Linked DNA regions of Homo sapiens: regions 1 and 3 are each linked to region 2. Evidence: promoter capture Hi-C in human tissues and cell types (Jung and others, 2019). All regions are on one chromosome and are shown on one strand. Each heading gives the region's core, a stretch centred on a gene start or on the middle of the fragment in contact. The rest is flanking DNA. Distances are from core to core; before and after follow the strand shown. Region 1 overlaps LOC105375416 (a long non-coding RNA gene). Region 2 holds the start of SLC25A13 (solute carrier family 25 member 13). Region 3 overlaps LOC105375416 (a long non-coding RNA gene).

Region 1 (4,608 bases), core at 211-2,710, 1.1 Mb after region 2:
TTGAATGGACCCTGACTGATACAGTTATAGGCTATTTGGATTTACTATTTCCTCATAGGTCAGTTTTAGTGACTTGTATCATTCTAGGTCTTGGACCATTCCACCTGTTTCAAATTTATTTCCTTATAGTTGTTCACAGTAGCTTCTGCATGATTTCTGCAGCCTAGGTACTTACAGCACCTTTTTCATTTTTAGACTTCTTTTCTAAAGTGGTAAAACATTCCCTTAATACAAAGACGCTTTAGTTGGATCCTGCAAGTTTTTATATATAATTCCTTCATTTAGATTTGTGGTTCTAACTATTTTATATTTCCATTGTAGTTTCTTCTTTTAACCATGGGTAATTAAGGCATATGTTTAAATTCCAAGTGTAGATTTGAAATATGTAGATTTTTAAAGATACCTTTCTGGTAATTATTATCTAATTCAATTTTTGGGAAGTCCAATATTAAGACATGTATGATACAGGTTTTTGAAATTAGGTGACATTTCTTTAAGTACAGTTCATAATGTATTCTTTAAAAACATTCCATGTATGCTTGAAAAGAATGTGTACTCTCAAACAGGGAGTACAGCATTCTATATATGTACACTAGAATAAGGTTTTAAATTGTGCTGTTCAAATCCTCATCCTTTGTGATTTCTCCTTGCCTACGCTTTAAGTCAGTTACTGAAATATGTCTGATATAATCTCTCACCATGCTGGTGCATTCATTTCATCCTTTTAATTTTGTCAAATTTTGCTCTGTGTATTTTAAGCTATGTCATTGGGTATATATGATGTCAGATTATCTCTTCTTGGTGAATTAAAAATTTCATATATGTGGGATCCCGTTATTTTCATGCTACCTTTGTCTTAAAGTCTATTTTGTTTGATAGCATTTTGCCTATACCACAATGCTTTGGTTGGTATTTGCCTAAAGCATAATTTCCCATCTTTTCATTCACTACCTTTAAATGTCTATTTTTTTCCACGTATGTTGGAGTGTACAACTAAGTTCAATAATCTAATCTAATAATAAAATAATTTGCAATTTTTGTTTTAGCATTTTTTTGCAATTTAATGTATAGAATGAATTTATTAAATTTAATTAATTGGATTGATACAGTTAAAGAATGTTCTGTTGGCTGAATTCTTTTTACCTTAATAATGTAATATGTAATAATTTTTTGTAGTATTTTAATAATAATATATAATAATTTAAAAATAAAATGTAATAAAGTTGTATCTGAAGACTGAGTTAGGAAAAAGTTCCAAAGGCAAATTCCTGGAACTCTAGAAAAAAAGAATGGTGGCAAGTGTCAACAGAACTGATGTGTAAAATGACAACAGGGAAAACTATACAACTGTACCGCTGTGGAAAATAAAATCATATAATTGAGGAAAACTGTTCTATCACATGTCTTACATTTTAAAACTTGTCAGGAAAAGTTACTTATTTATATATTTTAAAGATATAGTGGCTTTATGTACACCTGTACTTTTCCAAAATACAATGAATATGACCAGTATCTTTACAGACGAAGCTGTGACTAAGCTTGTGCCTGAGGGAAAAACTGAAAATCAGAATGTCTGTTTTTTTCCAACATAGATACATTTTCAACTGGAGATTTAATAAGCTTTCTGCTCCTAGTGACTTACCTCATGATGTATCATGTATATTCCCTTATAATCATGATTTTTTTTTTTTTTTTACTTTTCAGGTTTAGAATAAATCTTCACTATTTCCTACCCAATGGCAAACACTTAAGGGAACTCACTGAAGTTTGGATGACTGATGAAGTATATAACAAACCCTGACTTTCCCAATATCCTAGCCCTACATAATGCTTTTTGGTGAAGGTTAAATGAAAAAATTTAAGGCAACAGTATTTGTACTGTGACCATTCCAGGAAGATAGCTCCCTGATTTTAAAAATTCAAAATGGGATATATACTTGAACTAACACATACACTACAATAGCCTTGCTGTAGTTTCATCATAGTTATCAAAACCCACAAATATGTTTTGCCTGGGTAACACGAAGTAGGAGAAATAACCCCTAAATCCTTCATATGCTTAACTCTTACTTGGACATTGTTGCCAATTAATTATGAAGGAGTTTATTTTTTATTTGTAAATAGAATGTATGAGGAAAAGGAAGGAAAGTTTACTTTATACCCACAGGAAAATCAGGCCCAAAGACATATACAGCACGACCAGAAGAGGTAAGGCACAGTTGTCTGAAGGATAATAGAACAGGTTTTTGTTAACTCACTATGTCCAGGCCAAAACCTTCCAACCATGATTATATTATAAGAAACTAGTGGCTGGGGACGGTGGCTCACTCCTGTAATTCCAGCACTTTGGGAGTCCGAGCTGGGCTGATCACAAGGTCAGGAGTTCGAGACCAGCCTGGCCAACATGGTGAAACCCCGTCTCTAGTAAAAACACAACAAAATTAGCCAGGCACAGTGGCACGTGCCTATAATCCCAGCTACTTGGGAGGCTGAGGCAGGAGAATCGCTTGAACCTGGGAGGTGGATGGAGGTTGCAGTGAGCCAAGATCATGCCACTGCACTCCAGTCTGGGTGACAGAGCGAGACTCCGTCTCAAAAAAAAAAAAAGAAACTAGTGAACATTTTTGCTACATTAAAAGTGCTGTTTCCTAAACGAGAGAACACAAACAAAGCCCAAAATATTTCTTTATTTTTACTTAGTTATTTATTTATTTTGAGACGGAGTCTCGCTCTGTCGCCCAGGCTGGAATGCAGTGGCGTGATCTCAGCTCACTGCAAGCTCCGCCTGGTGAAAACCCAAAATATTTCTAAAATGCACATGTTTTCTGACACTTCAGCTAACTCACAATGACTTGGCAACAATTTGAGTTACTAGTAGAAATCTCAATGGCTTTAAACTTTGAGTTTCTGGGATATTTTATCAGTGTAGCATGAAAAAATATATTAAATATATGCATTTAAGTAGTAATCTATTTTAACTCTGTATGTATAGTTTAAAAAAATAGCTATCCTAAGAATGGTTTTGTTTATTGTTCCACATATTTAAAACGTTGTATCTTATGCTTTTTTGTTTACTATGAATCTCTAGGTTCACATGGAGGATATCTAAAAGCTGTAATCTGTGGTCTTGAATTTACATGTTCCCAGTATTTACATCCTGATTCTTTTAAAACCTTGTTCACATTATGTGGGTATCCACAGGAGGTTTTAGGAGAAACTCAACTGGGATTATATATATGCTGAAAAAGATGCCACTGAAGATCAAGTTTAACTTTTTTCTGAGGTATGCTTCCCATGACTTTGGTTGTGTGCCTATCCTAGACATTAAACATTTAGCCACTGATTTGTGGACCATGATAGTTTGCTACAGATCAACCTGGCACACAAACAGAGGTTGGAGCATGATCCACTTTGAATAAAGGAGCTTTGCAGGCCGTTGGTTCAGGAGACCCCCTTATGGCTTGAATAAGGGGCTAAACACACCTTCTGACATTCGTCAAATAATTATGGGCTCTTTTTGCCTCTTGTGGGAAACAAATAGGTTTAGAAATTGTGGCTATCATCTACACAGAAAGCCAAAAAAAAATTGGCATCTTTCCCAGAATAAAATCTTTGCATTGATGCAAGAAACGGACATGTAGTGTTGACAAAATTCCTGAGAGAGGTACCTCTGTCTTAGAATTATGTTGTCTTTCAGTGTGCAGCCAGAGACCTCCCTAGTGAACCCAGTTAACCGAGGTAATATGGTGGACTGTTCCCAGGGCCGTGCCTCCCCACCAGAGGGAAGTGTTATGGTGCCTCTTTCTGACTCTCATTCCCAGTCTCTGAGCCCAGAGCTGTTGAGACATGTGAAAGAAAGAAAACCCCACAAAGAGCTAAAAACAATGAGGAAACCTGAAAGTGTTTCAACATTATTTTGAAGTGAGAATGAAGGGCAGCAGAAAAATCCTCCCATCTCTGTCAGTTTCTACAACCTCACTGACTAGTTTCCAAAGACCCAAATTCCTTCTAGAGAAGGAAGTCAACCAGGATTTGGTCAAAGCCTGAAACAGGAATGTCTACTTTCCCCAGTGGTGAACTTCTTGAAGTATCTAATTCACCTTTACGTCTCTGCAGTGCCTAGTGCAGTATCTTGCTCAGCAAATACTTGGAGGGAGGGAGAGGAGGGTAAAATGCTCTTTCCTTTTCCTTCATCCGCACAGTGAAAACCTTATTTGTGGTATTATCTTAAATCCAAAGAGCAAGGCAGAAGGGCTTGTCTACCTTATGGAAATGGTAGAAAGACCAACTCTCATCGAGAGTCATGGAGAAACGCAGAGGGGTATTTATTAATTTCCAGGTGACTAGCTTAAGTCCTTTGTTGATTTTTAAAACAACCAAATGCTTCTGAGATTTTGTAACTCAAATGAGTTTCAGAACCTTGCCAGTAAATTTCAAAGAATGCACTTATTTGGCTTTTTATCCTCAGAGAAAACAAGAATAGATATCACGCAGGAGCCTTTCACTGCAAATTTTATTGTTAAGCAATAATTTGATAACAACAAAGAATTTTCCTCTAACCTGACTCACATTATTGGAACACTAGAGGAATGTATTCATATGATCACC
Region 2 (4,710 bases), core at 292-2,791:
GTTAAGGCAGCTTCCAAAATTGAATCCTAGTGATGCTCAGAGAAACTGCTGAAAAGTTATAGATAGATATACACACGCACACCTGTGTGTTCATATGCAAACATACATGAGCCCACACACCCAGAGTACTTTCCTAAGGATGAAACTCAGAGTAATTACAGAAAAGAGAAATGCCACTTAGACCACAGAAACTAACAACATGAAGAAGCCTACGGATTTGGGGAGCCTGGAGAGACTTAAGTCATAGAACAGCATTTAAATATATTTGTCTGCTTACAATTTCCATTGCAAATGTGATTAGTTTGCTTGAATAAATAGGAATATGATGTGTTGGCCATGTTTTCCTCTTGAGGGTTATCACAGAGTTTTGATTAAGGACAAATGTTTGAAATGTTAGGTATATTTAAGTTCACTGCACTTAAAATGAGCTAAGAAGTTGTATAGGCTTGATTAGAGGGCTGCCTTCGTGAACTTAAATTAAAAGCAATAAATTCCAAATGATTCAAGTGATTGGGACTAAATATGGTATTCTGCCAGAGAAGTTGAAATGCAGTCCAAAGAGACTGAAATGGTGTCCAGGTTTCAAGAAATGGTGAAAGAGGAAAGGTCAAGTGTTGGAGTTGCCTTTCCTCTGGGTTAGTGAATGATTCACATTACACAGAACCCCTTTCAAGTACAACTTCACAGGAGTGACAGGCTCCCAGGACAATCTGTTTCATCGTTCCCAAAAAGAAGCCTCTCAAATGCTCCGAGGCGGGTATCTAAGTGTTGTCAGATGGAGAGAGGGAGGGGGAAGATGGGAATGATGGGAAAGCGGGGAGGGGGAGAGTCCCTGGACTTTTTATTCACAAAGGCGCAGACCAAGTCTCCTAGGCAGTTTCCAAAACGGAAGTCAAAGTAACTTCCCCACCCGCGGGAGGGCGGAGCCCTTGAAACGTAATAGGATCAGGCTTCAGCCCGGGCTCTGGCCCCTGGAAGAAGCCGGAGTCAACAACCAGCGGGGTCAGGAGCAGGAGCGCGCTGGGAAGGTAGAGAGGACCCCCAGCGCTTGCCGGCCCAGGGTGCACCAGGCCCCAGTCGCGCCCGCTCCTCCTCGTCGGCCCTGGCTCAGCCCCGTCAGGCACCAACTTCCCTCCCCGGCCAAGTGGGAGTGTCCGGCCCACAAAGTTTCCGCTGCGAGGTCGGGCCTCGGTCTCTGCACCGACCGCCTGTGCTGCCCGGGAGGAGTGGCCCCCTCCCTCCAGCAGCCGCAAGGTGGAACGGCTGCCCGGCACCCCATTTTGCTCCGCCTGTGGCACCAACCCAGACACGTGAGCGCCCGAGCCTCTCGCACCCCCAGGCTGATCCGGCAGGCGCGCTCCCCCCGGCCTCGGGCCCGCGGTTACCTTGGCGGCCGCCATGATTCGCCCCGGTTGCGGGCGACTGCGGGACCCACTGACTGGCTGGCTGGCGTTTGGGACCCGGGCGGCTCACTTCTAGTCCCGGCGGCGGCGGCGGTGGGGGCGGCGATACGGCCAGGCAGCGTGCGTTCCTGGCCTGCCTCCCCACGCCCTCCCGCCGGCGCGGGTCATGTGGATGCTGCCCGCCCATTGGCTGGGCCCAGCCTTGGCCGCCGGGGTGCGCGTGATCCAGCGGCCTCTGCCCTGCAGCCGGGGAGGGCTCAGATCCTGGGGCAGTGGCTGGACAGGGACACGTGACCCCGCTGCGCTGTCCAGCAGCGGCGGCCTCTGCGGCGTGGGCAGAGGTAACTTGGCCGTGTGCAAGCCCGTCACCTGAGGGCAGGTGGCCCCACCAGGGAAGCTGCTGGCTTCTGCTGATACCAGGGGCTACTGGGCCCTCGGACCGATGGGAGGGGCAAGTAACGACAGATGGTGCACGGCCTGGGGAAGTTGAGAACTCCACTAGGACACATACTTTGCTGGATATTTTTTCCCCTGTGCGTTCCCTTTGAAGGAGCTCCACTTTACACTGGATCCAAAAAGACTTTGATCCAAAAGCATTGACTTAGAAGGCGAGATTGCAAATATTGCTGGCACGCCTACTTTTAGATCAAAATCGGTGAACTCTTAAGAACCCAACAAGTGAATGTAGTGCAGAACGTATATTCATGAAACTACTCCATTTCAGCCCTACCTGTTAAAACGGTAGAAGTCAAAAGGCCCGGGTCAAAAGACTTCCCCCAAATAGGCCCTACTAAAATAAATAAACAAGCATTTTAATGAAAATTTGCTTATATGACCTCCAGGCCTTACTCCTCTTCATCAGGATTTCATTCTTCTGTCCTTGTAATCAAAATTTATAAGACAGTGGTGATCAGGGAAAAGGACTTTTAATGTATTGTAGGTTGTGGATGTAATATGGCAGCAAAAAGCACTTATTACTAATCAGTTTAATTCATTAACGTTGATTGAGTGCCTTCCTACTATGTGCTAGGCACTGTGCTTGGTGCTGGAAACCCCGAAATGACTTAAGAACTGGTTCCAACCGTTAAACAGCTTCAGGGCTATTGGGAAAGAGACACATAAATGTTTACTTCAGTATAACCTGTTAAGGCAGCAGACTGTTCCCAGGGCTCAATAAGAATACTGAGAATTCTCATGCCACTATGAAGAAATACCTGAGACTGGGTAATTTATAAACCAAAAGATTTAATTGACTCAGTTTCGCATGGTTTGGGAGACCTCAGGAAACTTACAGTTGTGGTGGAAGGCACCTCTTTACAGGGTTGCAGGAGAGAGAATGAGTGCCAAGCAAAGGGGGGAAAGCCCCTTGTAAAACCATCAGATCTCATAAGAACTCACTATCACAAGAACAGCATGGGAGTAACCGCCCCCATGATTCCGTTGTCTCTCACCGGGTCCTTCCCATGACATGTGGGGATTATGGGAACTACAATTTAAGATGAGATTTGGGTAGTGACACGGTCAAACCATATCAAAAGGTAACTTGATCTTGAGCTATGGGATTGGGGCAGTGGCACGACTAGTGGAAGGAGTCTGGCCCAGCAGGTAGGGGCTGTGTCATGGTGGGTCTTAGGCGCCTTGCTGAAGGGTATGCACCTTAACTGAAGGGTTTTAAGTCAGGAAGCAGCATGACTAGGTTTTCGATATAGAAAGATCTCTCTATGGTCTGAATGTGCCCCCCAAAATTGATGTGTTGGATACAATCTCTAATGCATCAGTGTTGGAAGGTTGGGTCCTTGGGGAGGTATTTTCATCACAAGGGCTCTGCCCTCATAAATGGATTAATGCTGCCATAAAAAGAGGTTTGGGGAGTGGGTTCACTCTCTCTTGCTCTTCTGCTCTTTTGCCATATAAGAACATAGCATTCCTCACCTTTGAAGGACACAGCATTCAAAGAGCCATCTTGGAAGCAGAGAAACCAGGCCGTAACCTGCCAGCACTTTGATCTTGGACTTCCTAGCGTCTAGAACTGTGAGAAATACATTTCCGTCCTGTTCTTCTAGTCTCAGGAATTCCCTTACAGCAACACAAAATGGACTAAAACACTGCTTGCAGTATGGAGGATGGGTTCCAACTGAACTACCAGGATGTCCAGACGAGACAGGCTGGGGATGGGCTAGGACTAGAGGAATACATAGAAGGTAAAATTAGTGGGGTTGGGACGGAAAAAGGGAGTTGTGCCATATTGCACATAGACTTGTGGTATGGGTGTCTGGAAAAACACCTGAGATTGGTAATTCAAGAGGAGTGTTTTGAGGTGTGTGAGTCTGTCTGTAAGGAGAATGTATGTCCAACATACAAATTATGTTGTAGAAGCTTAAGAAAGAAGCATTACAGAAAGAAGCAACTATTTAACCTACTCTCAAAAGGTTCAACAAAGCCCAGAAGACTTGACCATGTTCATAGGCAGAGAAGAAAGATCAGCAAAAAGTAAAAAAAAAAAAAAGACAAAAGGAAAACCAGGAGAATTGTTAGAGAAAATTATGACAAGGGGACAAGTCTGAAGCTCCTGTGGAGGATGGCCCCAGCTGCCACAAGGGGAGTGTAAAAGGAGGTGAGAAAATACAACCTCATGTAAAGAACAAAATTACATCATGTACCACGTATTTATTTTTAAGGGCATCATTAAAGCTCTCCTTTTATAATGTAAATGAAACAAAAAATTTTTAATGTAATAAAATATACATAAAATGTACCATCTTGACCATTTTGAAATGTACAGTTTAGTAGTGAAATACTTTCACATTGTTGTGCAGCCAATCTCCAGAACTCTTTTCATCTTGCAAAGCTGAAACTCTGTACTCATTAAACAACCACTCCATCTCCCAACCCCCTGACAACCACCATTCTACTTTGCTCCTATAAATCTGACTACTCTAGGTACCTAATAAATGGAATCATATGGTATTTGTGTTTTGTAGCATAATGTCTTCAACCTTCATACATGTTATATAGCATGTGTCAGAATTTCCTTCCTCTTCAAGGTTGAACAATATTCCATTAATTTTTTTAATAGAAAAAGTCCATTATACTTCTTCTTGACATTTTTGAAAATTCAGAAAATCATAGTAATGGCCAAAAAATCACTGATAATCCTATCAATAGAGTTAGCCATTGTTAACATTCTACTGTATTTTTTCATGTCTTGCTGTGCTTATGTGTGTGTATCAAGACATATTTATTTTACTTTATTTTTTGTTTTTGTATTTCTTGAGACAGGGTCTCACCCTGTTGCCCAGGCTGGAGT
Region 3 (4,362 bases), core at 716-3,215, 1.0 Mb after region 2:
ATAGAATCAATCTATTAATAAGAAAATGTGGTATATATACACAATGGAATACCATTTAGCCATAAAAAAAGAGTAAAATCCTGTAATTTGCAACAACATGGATAGGACTGGAGGTCATCATGTTAAGTAAAATAAGCCAGGCACAGACATACAAATACCATATGCTATTCCTTGTATGTGGGAACTAAAGGTAGAGAGTAGAATGATAGATGTCAGAGGGTGGAAAGGAAGTATATGTGGATGGGCGGGGGTTGGTTATGACCTATAGAAATAAGTTTTAATGTTCGATAGCAGAATAAGGTGATGATAGTTAACAAAAATGTATTGTATATTTCAAAATAGCTAGAAGAGAGGACTGGAAATGTTCCCAACACACAGTCATAAATATTTGAGGTGATGGATATCCTAAATACTCTGACTTTATCATTACACATTCTACATATGTAACAAAATATCACACGTACCTCACAAACGTGTAGAAATGCTATGTATTATTATTATTTTTTTTTTATTTTTGAGACGGAGTCTTGCTTTGTCACCCAGGCTGGAGTACAGTGGCTCGATCTCAGCTCACTGCAACTTCTGCCTCCCGGGTTCTCAGGCAATTCTCCTGCCTCAGCCTCCCAAGTAGCTGGGACTACAGGTGCGTGCCACCACACCCAGCTAATTTTTTGTACTCTTAGTAGAGACAGGGTTTCACTGTATTAGCCAGGGTGGTCTCAATCTCCTGACCTCATGATCTGCCCACCTCGGCCTCCCAAAGTGCTGGGATTACAGGCATGAGCCACTGCGCCTGGTTTATTATTATTATTAATTAATAATAATAATTAATAATATTATTATTTATTATTATTATTAATTAATAATAATTAATAATATTATTATTTATTATTATTATTATTTTAAACAAAGGCCTCAGAACCAGGGGGCCAAAGGTGTAAATCTCAGTCCAATGAGAACACTGATGACCCAGCTCAAGCAAGTATGTAGGAATAAAAAGGGGTAAATTCCTCCTTCCTCCACCTTTTTTTTTTCTCCTTTTGAGGGCCTCAAGACATTGAATGTTGCCCACCTTCATTGAGAAGGGCAATCTACTTTAGTGAGTCCACTGTTTCAAATGCTAATTTCATTTGGAACAACCTCACAGACACACTTGGAAATGCCGTTTAATTTGGAAACTCCATGGAGCAGTCCAGTTGACATGGTTACCATGCCAGTCCTCTTAACCTTTTTCAGAGAATCAGCTTTCTTGGTAATCTGGACCCCTGGAAAAGTGTGTATATGTACCACATTTTTGTTGTACCCAGGGGATCCCTGAACTCATCTGTGAGCTGGTTAAAGCCTTGGACCCGCCCTCTTAGCAAACTGTCCACATCTTGTCCCCTGCACTCTGCACCACGACAATCAGGTGTCTTTCCTTGTGCACCTCTCCGCCTTATGGCGACATGAGGCACTTGCCACCTCTAAGGGTAAATCACTTGCTTTATTTAGTTCCTTCTCACAAATCAGATGGTGGACAATATAGAGCTAACATAAATAAAATAATGAAATGAACACAACCCTAGACCCCAGAAAGATTATGAACAAACCTTACTGAGTGGGGAAAAAATCTGACACCACTAAAACTTTCTCCAGCCCTACCAGCATTACTATGAAGTGTCTGATTGGTTTCAGGCTTTCACCAAAGTTGATACACACTATATTTTTTTTACCTGTAACTCAAGGGGACAAGTTTGGGATGTGGTCCTTTCATATTCATCCTATGCATACAGTGGTTCCAGGTTGGGTTCCCAGGAAAACAGATGCTGAGACGGAGGTTAGTGTGCAGGCTGTTTATTAGGGAGTCACACTTTGGAAATTAACACCTGTGGAAACAAGGGGTAGAACAAGTGTGGGCACAGGGAGATGTTAAGCTGTGAGGCAGGCCTGAGGACAGCCTCTGCCAATCCTCCAGCTTGCAGTAGAGCTAAGATGGCCCTTCAGAGTTGGCCTGCATTGGGAGGAATTGGCTGTGTCCTTATACTTCCTATCTCCGTCAATCACTGGGTGTTGGCGTCCCAGGAAATACTTGACTTTTGACCAGGTGGCCCCCTGCAGCTGGAGCAATCCCTGAAGCAATCTACAGCAAAAGACTATCTGCTGACATCATTCTTCCAGCAGCGGGGCCACAATCCCTTTTAGAAGGGTGCTTCTCCATGTCCATCACACAAGCTGATCCACTTTAAGTAAGCTTCAATTCACACTAGTTTGGTTGGTTTTAAATGGAGTCTGTTTCAGAAAAGCAGGATTTCTACTCTCAGAACTAATTCATTCAAATAATATTCATAAAATGCCTATGATGTGCCAGTTACTGTTTTAGGTGATGATGATATGGTGCTGAAAAGACTCTACCCTCAGTCTAGTGGAGGACTTAGAAAATAAAAAGATAAGGCAATAAATAACATAATTTCAGATAATGACAAGTGCCTTGAAGAAATTAAAGCAGGGTGAGAAAATAAAAAATGACTGGGTAGGGGTGAAGGAGGTGCTAGCTTAGGTTAGTGGTCAGGGAAGGTGACATTTGAGTAGAGACTTGATTGAAAGGTAAGGCAAGTCCTGTGAAACTCTGGGGCTAAGAGTGTTTCATGCAGAGAAAAGGAAATGTAAAGACCTCGAGCACAACTGAGCTTTGCACATTTAGGGGGCAGCAAGGCCAGCTAGGGGGAGTGATAGAGAAGGGGTAGGGTCAGAGAATCAAGGCCTATGGGGCCAGGGGGCCTGAAAAGGAATGGAGATTCATTTTAAATATAATTGAAAATCCCTGGAGAGCTTTCAACAGCATAGAGACAAAACCTACTTTACATTTTAAAACTGTCTGTGGAGAATGGGCAAGAGGATGTGTGGAAATAAAGATAATGGATTCAACATTTTTTATTGTAGTAAAATATGCGTAACATTGAATTTACTATTTTAAAGTTTTTTGAGTGTACAATTCAGTACATTCACACTTGTGCAACTGAAACCGACCCAATAGTCCCACAGAGGGTTCTTTTGGATAAACGTAGAAATTGACCCCTCTGGTCTTACAGCTTGAAACTCACAACTGTTTTTTTTTGTTTGTTTGTTTTGTTTTGTTTTGTTTTGTTTTTGAGACAGAGTCTCGCTCTATCACCCAGGATGGAGTACAGTGGCGCAATCTCGGCTCACTGCAAACTCTACCTCCTGGGTTCACGCATTCTCCTGCCTCAGCCTCCCGAGTGGCTGGGACTATAGGCGCCCGCCACAACGCGTCGCTAATTTTCTTTTTTGTATTTTTAGTAGAGGCGGGGTTTCACAGTGTTAGCCAGGATAGTCTAGATCTCCTGACCTCGTGATCCGCCCGCCTCAGCCTCCCAAAGTGCTGGGATTATAGGCGTGAGCCACCGCGCCTGGCCAACCCACAATTGTTTTATCTGAATTCTTTCCTCAGGAAATAACCCCCAGGCCTCTCAAAAAGTATCAAAGAACTGAAACTCACCAGATTACTGCATCCAGAGCCAGGCCTCTCATATTGTTTTCCTACTCTTCCCTAGTTCCGGTTCCCTCACACATTGTTACATTTCTTGCCTGCTATATAAACCCCTAATTTTAATCAGTCAGGGAGATGGATTTGAGACTGAGCTCCCATTTCCTTGGCTGCATCACCCGATTAAATCCCTCTTCCTTTGCAATACTCGTCATCTCAGTCATTGGCCTTCTGTGCAGTGAGCAGCAGGCACTAGACTGAAGCCTTGTTGTTTCAGGAACACAACCATCACCACTATCCATCTCCAGAAATTTTCCATCAGTCAAACAGAAGCTCTGTACCTATTAAACAATAGCTCTTCATTTCCCTCTCCCTCCAGCCCCTGGTAACCATTATTCTATTCTTTCTATATGAATTTGACTATTCTAGGTATCTAAGTGGAAGTACACAGTATTTGTCCTTCTCTGTCTGGCTTATTTCACTTAGTGTAATGTTTTCAAGGTTCATCCATGTTATAGCATGTATCAGAATTTTATTCATTTTTGAAATTGAATATTTTATTCCATGTTCATACCACATTTGTTCATCCAACCATCAGTGAAAGTTTAGGTTGCCACAGCTTCCACTAATCACTACACCCTACAAAATGAACTTCATTGTATATTATGTTCATTGTCAATGAAAATAGATAAAAATCCATACATTGTCTTCTTGCTTATTTTGAATTTTGGTGGTCTGTTTTCTTATAACATCAGCTTATCATAATTCATCTCAGGTTGATAAAGATTTTGCACTAGGAGGAGAAGCTCTACATAAAAGTCTTTTCGTTGTTGTCCAAGGAAAAACTTGCTATTTTTTTGTTAGTATTATCTTCAAAA

The links. The method cuts DNA at HindIII sites, captures the fragments that hold promoters and counts their contacts. A contact is called where the count stands out against the background at its distance.
Region 1: a fragment that was not itself captured here is called in contact with the fragment with the promoter of SLC25A13 in region 2 in 1 of the 25 tissues and cell types used here (dorsolateral prefrontal cortex).
Region 3: a fragment that was not itself captured here is called in contact with the fragment with the promoter of SLC25A13 in region 2 in 1 of the 25 tissues and cell types used here (dorsolateral prefrontal cortex).

The regions. Positions count from the first base shown.
Region 1 is chr7:97,397,981-97,402,588 of GRCh38, forward strand. All of the region lies in intron 2 of LOC105375416 (a long non-coding RNA gene), which reads right to left. Among named protein-coding and RNA genes, the nearest start is that of SDHAF3, 280 kb to the left of the region's middle. RefSeq lists an enhancer at 2,411-3,610. The HindIII fragment of the contact is 5,687 bases long and covers 1-4,304 here.
Region 2 is chr7:96,320,557-96,325,266 of GRCh38, forward strand. It overlaps SLC25A13 (solute carrier family 25 member 13), which reads right to left and starts at 1,542. Exons shown (of 18, transcript NM_014251.3): 1 at 1,386-1,542. The coding sequence starts at 1,400. RefSeq lists a silencer at 1,338-1,677. The HindIII fragment of the contact is 12,396 bases long and covers 1-4,710 here.
Region 3 is chr7:97,368,614-97,372,975 of GRCh38, forward strand. All of the region lies in intron 2 of LOC105375416 (a long non-coding RNA gene), which reads right to left. Among named protein-coding and RNA genes, the nearest start is that of SDHAF3, 250 kb to the left of the region's middle. The HindIII fragment of the contact is 3,688 bases long and covers 122-3,809 here.